Regions from separate parts of the Homo sapiens genome. Here region 2 is linked to region 1. The links are contacts of gene promoters, found by promoter capture Hi-C in blood cells and fetal thymus (Javierre and others, 2016). All regions are on one chromosome and are shown on one strand. Each heading gives the region's core, a stretch centred on a gene start or on the middle of the fragment in contact. The rest is flanking DNA. Distances are from core to core; before and after follow the strand shown.

Region 1 (3,378 bases), core at 670-3,169:
ATACAAAAAACTAGCCAGGTGTGGTGGCGGGTGCCTGTGGTCCCAGCTACTTGGGAGGCTGAGGCAGGAGGATGGCCTGAACCCGGGATGCGGAGCTTGCAGTGAGCCGAGATCTCGCCACTGCACTCCAGCCTGGGCTACAGAGCCAGATTCCTTCTCAAAAAAAAAAAAAGAGATTAGCGTTGCCCGAAAATTAGGTTCTTTTTAAACACTTTCATTTTGTCTTTATAAAGCTACATCCAATCCTGTGAAAATGCACAGGTTGCTCTAAGAAAAGAAGTACTCATCTCCTTAAACACTATTACCTGATAAATGTTATATTAAGTTTACATATCAATGCATTTACAATGTATATATTCATGCATTTATATGGGAGGTAACAAATTAGAAGATACACCTTTCTATATTTGCAAAAATGTAAAATGTCACTTGTATTCTCTCAAGGCAGTTTTATTTAAAAAAAAATTTCCTCACATTGAATAGATTATAAAATAAAAATCAGATGCCCCATACTACGGTACCTAGCAACCCCCTTCACCCAACTCCCATGGGCTTCTCCCACACACTATTTCATCAGTCATCTAGGGAGTCTGTAAGGAATGGGTTATCCTTTCCCTTGCAAAACAGATAAAACTTGTGCACTTAATACGCTCAAAGAATGTGTTCAGTTAATTATAAAAAAATGAAAACTATTTGTTTTCATCATTTATTCCTTCAGTCTATATGGTAAAAGAATCCAATTCTCATTAAAAGTTACCATATCAACTCTAAGGAACTTGGTGAATCCATCCGATCACTATCACAGAGGAACTATCCCTTAATTACATGTACAGAGGGTCACCAAATTCCGCTTACAAAAGCTTTCCAACCATTCTATCATACCGGAGGAAAAAGTAATGTTTCTCCTATAGCTATACAAATAAATGTCGTTAGTTTTTCTATAGTTTTCCTGGGCTTTCCTGTTGACAGGCAATATTTCAAAAGAATATAAGATCTGTGATTTATCTTCCACGCCTTAGTTACGGAAAATGATGCTAATACGATAATTGGCTTAAGGTTACAACGCTGACGTTGGAATGTTTACTGCCAAACAAAAGGAGAAATTATACTTAATTTTAAAAAACATCTCAGGAAAGAACATACCCCTAAAAACGTAAATTAAAACTGGTAACATAATTAGACGGTCTCTTAGATAATAGTAATTCAGGTTTCCCCTCCATCGACAGTAACTACCAAGTTTTCCCATGAAATGGAGGTTAGGGACCAGCCTTAGAATACTGAGAAAGATAAGAGACTCCCCTAGAATCGAAAGAGGGAAGAGAAACCAGAGAACAGAAACATGGTGAGGAAAGAGAAAAAACAGCTCTAACGTGCCAAGGGGTCTATTAACAAGAAAAAGGCATTATTGAACCGATTTACCCAGGAGTAACCCGAGCCCAAACCCCCGCCGACCACGGGGCGAACTCCGAAGTCTACTGAAGAAAGCTCCAGAGCCCAGTGACAATGAGAACCGCTCTTCTCTAGGAGTGGGGGCTCTAAGAGGAGACCATGCCTTCCCTGAATCGCCTTCCAGTTTGCTCGTCAGGAGCAAGACCCACCTGGAGACCGCCATGGCCGGGCGCCGGCGGTTCGGAGCTCCCCGCGACCTACGCGCCGCGCAGCTGAGGCGCTAGTTTCCAGAGAGCTGAGCGGCGCAGGCCCAGGCCGCGGAGCACAGGGGAGCGGCCGGTGCGGCGTGGGGCGTTCCAGCGCAGGCCCTCGGGCATCTGCCCTGCCGCCTACCCGAGCTCGTCCCCGCGGCGGCCGGTAAGCAGGGGTCCAAGACGGTAGCGGAGGCGGCAGTCCTCCGACCCGCACGACTTCAAACCGGGTACCCTCAGCTCCGCTCTTTGCTGACGCGGGCGTCGGCACGCACAACTGAGCGTCAGCGCGCCGGAAGTGACGTAAGCTCACCGACAGGAGCTTAGCTCGGCGCGAGCGCCTTTGGTTTGGCGGCACGCGCCTAAATAAAAGCGCTTTGTGCTGATGTGGAGAGGGTGTCTAGTCTTAAAACTAGGGAAGGAGGTGAAGTAAGGGTCCCCTTATTTGACAGAGAAGGAAAAAGGCGATTTAGTCCAAGTCCTGGAACTTCGAAAGCTTGGTTTCTAATTCCACACTACCCAGATTCTGCTTCCCACCGTACTGCATCTAGGAAGCAAGATCAGAAGGACCTTAACATGCTCTTGTCCAGGTGGTGAAGCCAGTGGGAGGAGTGAAAGCAAAAAGTCGCTATGACACTGAAGAAATGGCTCAGATGTTTGTCATTATTTGCCAGAAGTTCTGCCTAGGTATTGGAGAGAAGGTCTTCTGACCAACGATTTTGCCAAGTTTGATTTCTCAATTGTTTATGTTGTTTGTACCATCATTTTCTCAGCCAGCCAGATTTGAAAACTACCATTTTTAAATTTTTGTTCCTTTGGGGGACTTATCTGGCTTTTCAATATTTTTAAGTTCATTAGGCTTTTAAACACTTCTGCCAGGCCCTTATCATCTTACACTTGATTTTTTTTTTTTGACCGAGTTTCGCTCTGTCGCCCAGGCTGGAGTGCAGTGGCGCGATCTCGGCTCACTGCCAACCTGCGCTTACCGGGTTCAAGCGATTCTAAATGTGCCTCAACCTCCCGAGTAGCTGGGAGGCACACGAGCCCCACGCCGGGCCAATTTTTTGTATTTTTTAGTAGAGACGGGGTTTCGCCATGTAGGCCAGGCTTGTCTCCTGCTCCTGGCCTCAAGTGATCTGCCCGCCTCGGCCTCCCAAAGTGCTGGGATTACAGGTGTGAGCCACTGCGCCCGGCCCTTAAACTTGATTTTTATGCTAGTAGTCAAAATAATATTTCTCCAATTTTCAGTTCAGCCCATTTTATAGGCCAACAGATTAATCTTCAAAAAACCTCACTGCTTTTTATCATGTCGCTCCTATGCTTATAAAGCATGTCCATTGGCTTCTCATTACCTGAAGAGGCTATGTCTCAATCCTTGAGTCTGTTTTTCATCTGTAAAATGAGGCTAATGAGAAGTACTGCAGAAGATTGTGGGAATAAAATGAGGTCATGAATCTAGAAGAGCTTACAAGAACTTTGTAAACCATAAAGTAGTATATATGTATGTAAAGAGAAAGAAACTAACAAGTACCTGCTGTGTGCTGGGCACATGACATGCATTATCCATATAATTTGTAGGGAAGCCTTGAAAAGTTAGTTTTAATCTTCGTAGACAAGGAAACTAAGCTCAGAAAGGTTAAGTAATTTGCCTCAAGATTCAAGCTAGTAATAATATTTATTGTCCAGTCATTCAACAAATGTTTGTCACCTCTCTGTATCAGAAACTCTGCTTGGCGGT
Region 2 (3,250 bases), core at 630-3,129, 1.0 Mb after region 1:
ATCACATTTCTTTACTAATGAAAAATAATGGTCATAAAGATGCTACTAAGGACAGGTGTGTGACAGTTGAATCAAGATACATTGGTACTAAAATTCCAAGTATTAAGCAAAGCCTTAGAGAAAGACGAGAAGAAAGTAAGGAGCTGATTACTGGGACAATATACTGATTCCCTGTTAATTTCATAAAAATTAGTTCTTTATTCAATTCAAATGAATGAAACCCTTTCAGTGTTTAAGACAGGTAATTTGTCCACATGACTCACAAAGCAACATAAGAAAACAATAAAAAGTACTACTTGCATCTCCAATCCTATCTGCCCTATCCCTTCCTCCAATAATCACTTTTATTAATTTCTTGTGTCTTCTTCCAGAGTTTCTTCATACAACTATAAGCAAATACGAAGAGATACTATTTTTCTTTCCTATCCAAAAGGTAGTCTGCTGCATTGTTGTCCTGACATGAAAGCTCTTCCAAGTCAGCTCATAACTTCCTCTGTTTTACAGTTGTAGAGTATCATATTGTAGAGGTATAGCATGTATTTAACCAAACCTCTACTGAGAGCCTTTGGGTGGTTTCAGTGTATCTGTAGAATAACACTAAAGTGGGATTGCTAGGCATAATGGGTTGAATTGCGTCCTCATCCACAAAAGATACAATGAAGCCCTAAACCTCAGTACCTCAGAATGTAATCTTATATTTGGAAATAGGGTCACTGTAGATGTAATTAGTTAAGATGAAGTCAGATTGGAATAGGGTAGGCCCCTAATCCAATATGACTGGTGTCTTATGAGACGATGGCCATGTGAAGACATAGAGACAAACAGGGAGAACACACTGAAGACAAAGGCAGAGACTGGAGTTACGTAGCTGCAAGCCCAGGATTACCAAAGATTGCCAGAAAATCACCAAAAGCTAAAAAGAGGCAAGGAAGGTGGTCCTATAGATTTCAGAGGGAACAAGACCATGCTGACACCTTGATTTCAGACTTGCAGGCTTCAGAACTGTGAGATCATACAGTTTAAAACTGTTGTTTAAATCAGTAAACGTATTTGTAATTTGAATAGTTGTTGCCAAATTACCCACTCTCCGCATAGGGACTGTTCTCATTTACACAGTTACGAGCAAAATATGAGAATGTCTGCTTTCCTGCAGCCTTACAACAGAGTGTATCTCTAATCACACAGGTGATTTTAATGTGAAATCTCTTACTATGATAAATTTAATCATCTTTTCATATGTCTAAGGCCTGTTTGCATTTCCTTTACTGTGAAATGCCTTTTTCATATTCTTAATCCATTTTTTGGTATTGTTCATCTTTTTTTTTAACTTATTAATTTCTAGGCACTCTTTGGTCTTTATGTGTTAAGGGAATAAGCATTTTGTCTATGACATGAGTGAAAATTTTCCATCAGTTTGTCATCTGTCTTTTAACCTTGTTTCTGGTGTTGTTTGCATTTTTTTTTTCCACAGAAATTTTTAATACTGGCACAATTTGCTGGCACTGAATGGACACAGTACTTAACACATTAGATTCATGTGTGATAAAACAAAGTTTACAGAACACTCACATCCAAATCAAGTATTTATAGCATGATTCATGGAACTACCTCACTGTTTAGATACTACTTACTAAACATCTCTCAGTGGGGAGTAATCGGACCACGAAGACAGAAATGGATTAGGGTTAAAGGAAGGACTGAGGGGAAAACATCAGAGAGAGTGTAAAACATATAAGATCCCTTAAAATAACTCAATAAGCTTGAAGTCATTGTTAAGTGACAATAACATTGAAATGGAAATAACATTGTAAAAAAATCAAAGGGAAAGTAAAGAGATACGTGCTGTTTTAAGAACATCCTTCTTCTCACAACCTGAATTCATAAAGCTCATGTTTTAAAATATGAAATTACTCTGTGCTTAACAAAGAGTTCTGCTGTAAAGTAACTTTAAAAAGCATTTCCCAGTAGGAAATAACAGCAGATTTGGAATCAAAGCTTGAGTACAAATCCCTTGTCAACCCCTTGAGAGAGTCATTTAACTGTGTGAACCATGAACTACCTAAGATTCTACTGTATTACCTGCATATGGAGATAATTAACATCTACCCCATCCCAAAACTGCTGGGCCAAAGCAGGTATCAAACTGCTTATGTCATAAAATGCTAAATAATCTGAAGTCATGTGATTATTCAAGAAAAGGAGTGGAATCCAATTTTTTAGAAACACATCTATCACATGACAGAAATGCGATGACAAGTTACTTAGACTCCAGAAGAGGTTTGTGGGAGATTTTAGAGGAAATTGCATAATTGAAATTATGGTGCCCTAAGCATACAGTGAAGATGACAAAAGGGAAAAGAGCTGCAAAGTACACAAATGGAGTGTTTGGTATGCTATAGAGCTCCTGGGCCCTCCTTCACAATCCCAACCTTCCAAGCTGATGATTCTCACATGGCATCTGGCCTATTGGTAAAAGATGAATGATTTACCTTTCTTAATACTGCTTTTCACCACAACCAAAGAAAAGGGCCCACATCGTGACAAAATTAAGATCTGTGCTTAATTTAAAGTATCCTGGCCGAGGCGGGTGGATCACTTGAGGTCAGGAGTTCAAAACCAGCCTGGCCAACATGATGAAACCCCAACTCTATTAAAAATAAAAAAAAAATTAGCCAGCTGTGGTGGCGGATGTCTGTAATCCCAGCTACTTGGGAGGCTGAGACAGGAGAATTGCTTGAACTGAGGAGGCGGAGGCTGCAGTGAGCCGAGATCACACCACTGCACTCCAGCGTGGGTGGACAGAGCGAGACTCTGTCTCAAAAAAAAAAAAAAAAAAAAAAGTAATCCTTATAAAGTGATCCTTTTAAAGCCAATCTATGAACTTCTCAAGGCCAAAAACAAGTTTACACTCAAAGCCAAGGGAACATGCAAGGACCAAGACTGTGCTCTCACAATGTATACATTTCCATACTTTATGTAGACAAACAGCTCCACAGCCAGACTGGATATTATGTTACAAATAATACATACATACCTATGCCACAACTATTATTTACTCTGAACAACAAGCTAGACACCTGTATGTTTCCAACTTTCTCTCTTTAATAAAAAATAGGTGAATAAATTAACAGGGACTCTTCTGCTTCCTGACCAATTCACAGTGCAGCCTACTCTTCTACTAGATGAAGACTAAAAATAATCTTGTGCAGCCTTTCTTTCCACTCCATCATCTAGTTTTTATTAAACAACA

The links. Contacts are between HindIII fragments. The CHiCAGO score rates a contact against its expected background, and 5 or more counts as called.
Region 2: a fragment that was not itself captured here is called in contact with the fragment with the promoter of BTAF1 in region 1 in 3 of 17 cell types (total CD4 T cells, fetal thymus and total CD8 T cells); the score reaches 8.8 in total CD4 T cells.

What each region holds. Positions count from the first base shown.
Region 1 is chr10:91,922,311-91,925,688 of GRCh38, reverse strand. It overlaps BTAF1 (B-TFIID TATA-box binding protein associated factor 1), which reads right to left and starts at 1,919. Exons shown (of 38, transcript NM_003972.3): 1 at 1,599-1,919. The coding sequence starts at 1,612. RefSeq lists enhancers at 1,377-1,576, 2,187-2,296, 2,644-3,177 and a silencer at 1,637-1,936. The HindIII fragment of the contact is 1,276 bases long and covers 863-2,138 here.
Region 2 is chr10:90,888,895-90,892,144 of GRCh38, reverse strand. The region is part of intron 6 of RPP30 (ribonuclease P/MRP subunit p30); the gene reads right to left. Among named protein-coding and RNA genes, the nearest start is that of RPP30, 19 kb to the right of the region's middle. The HindIII fragment of the contact is 236 bases long and covers 1,762-1,997 here.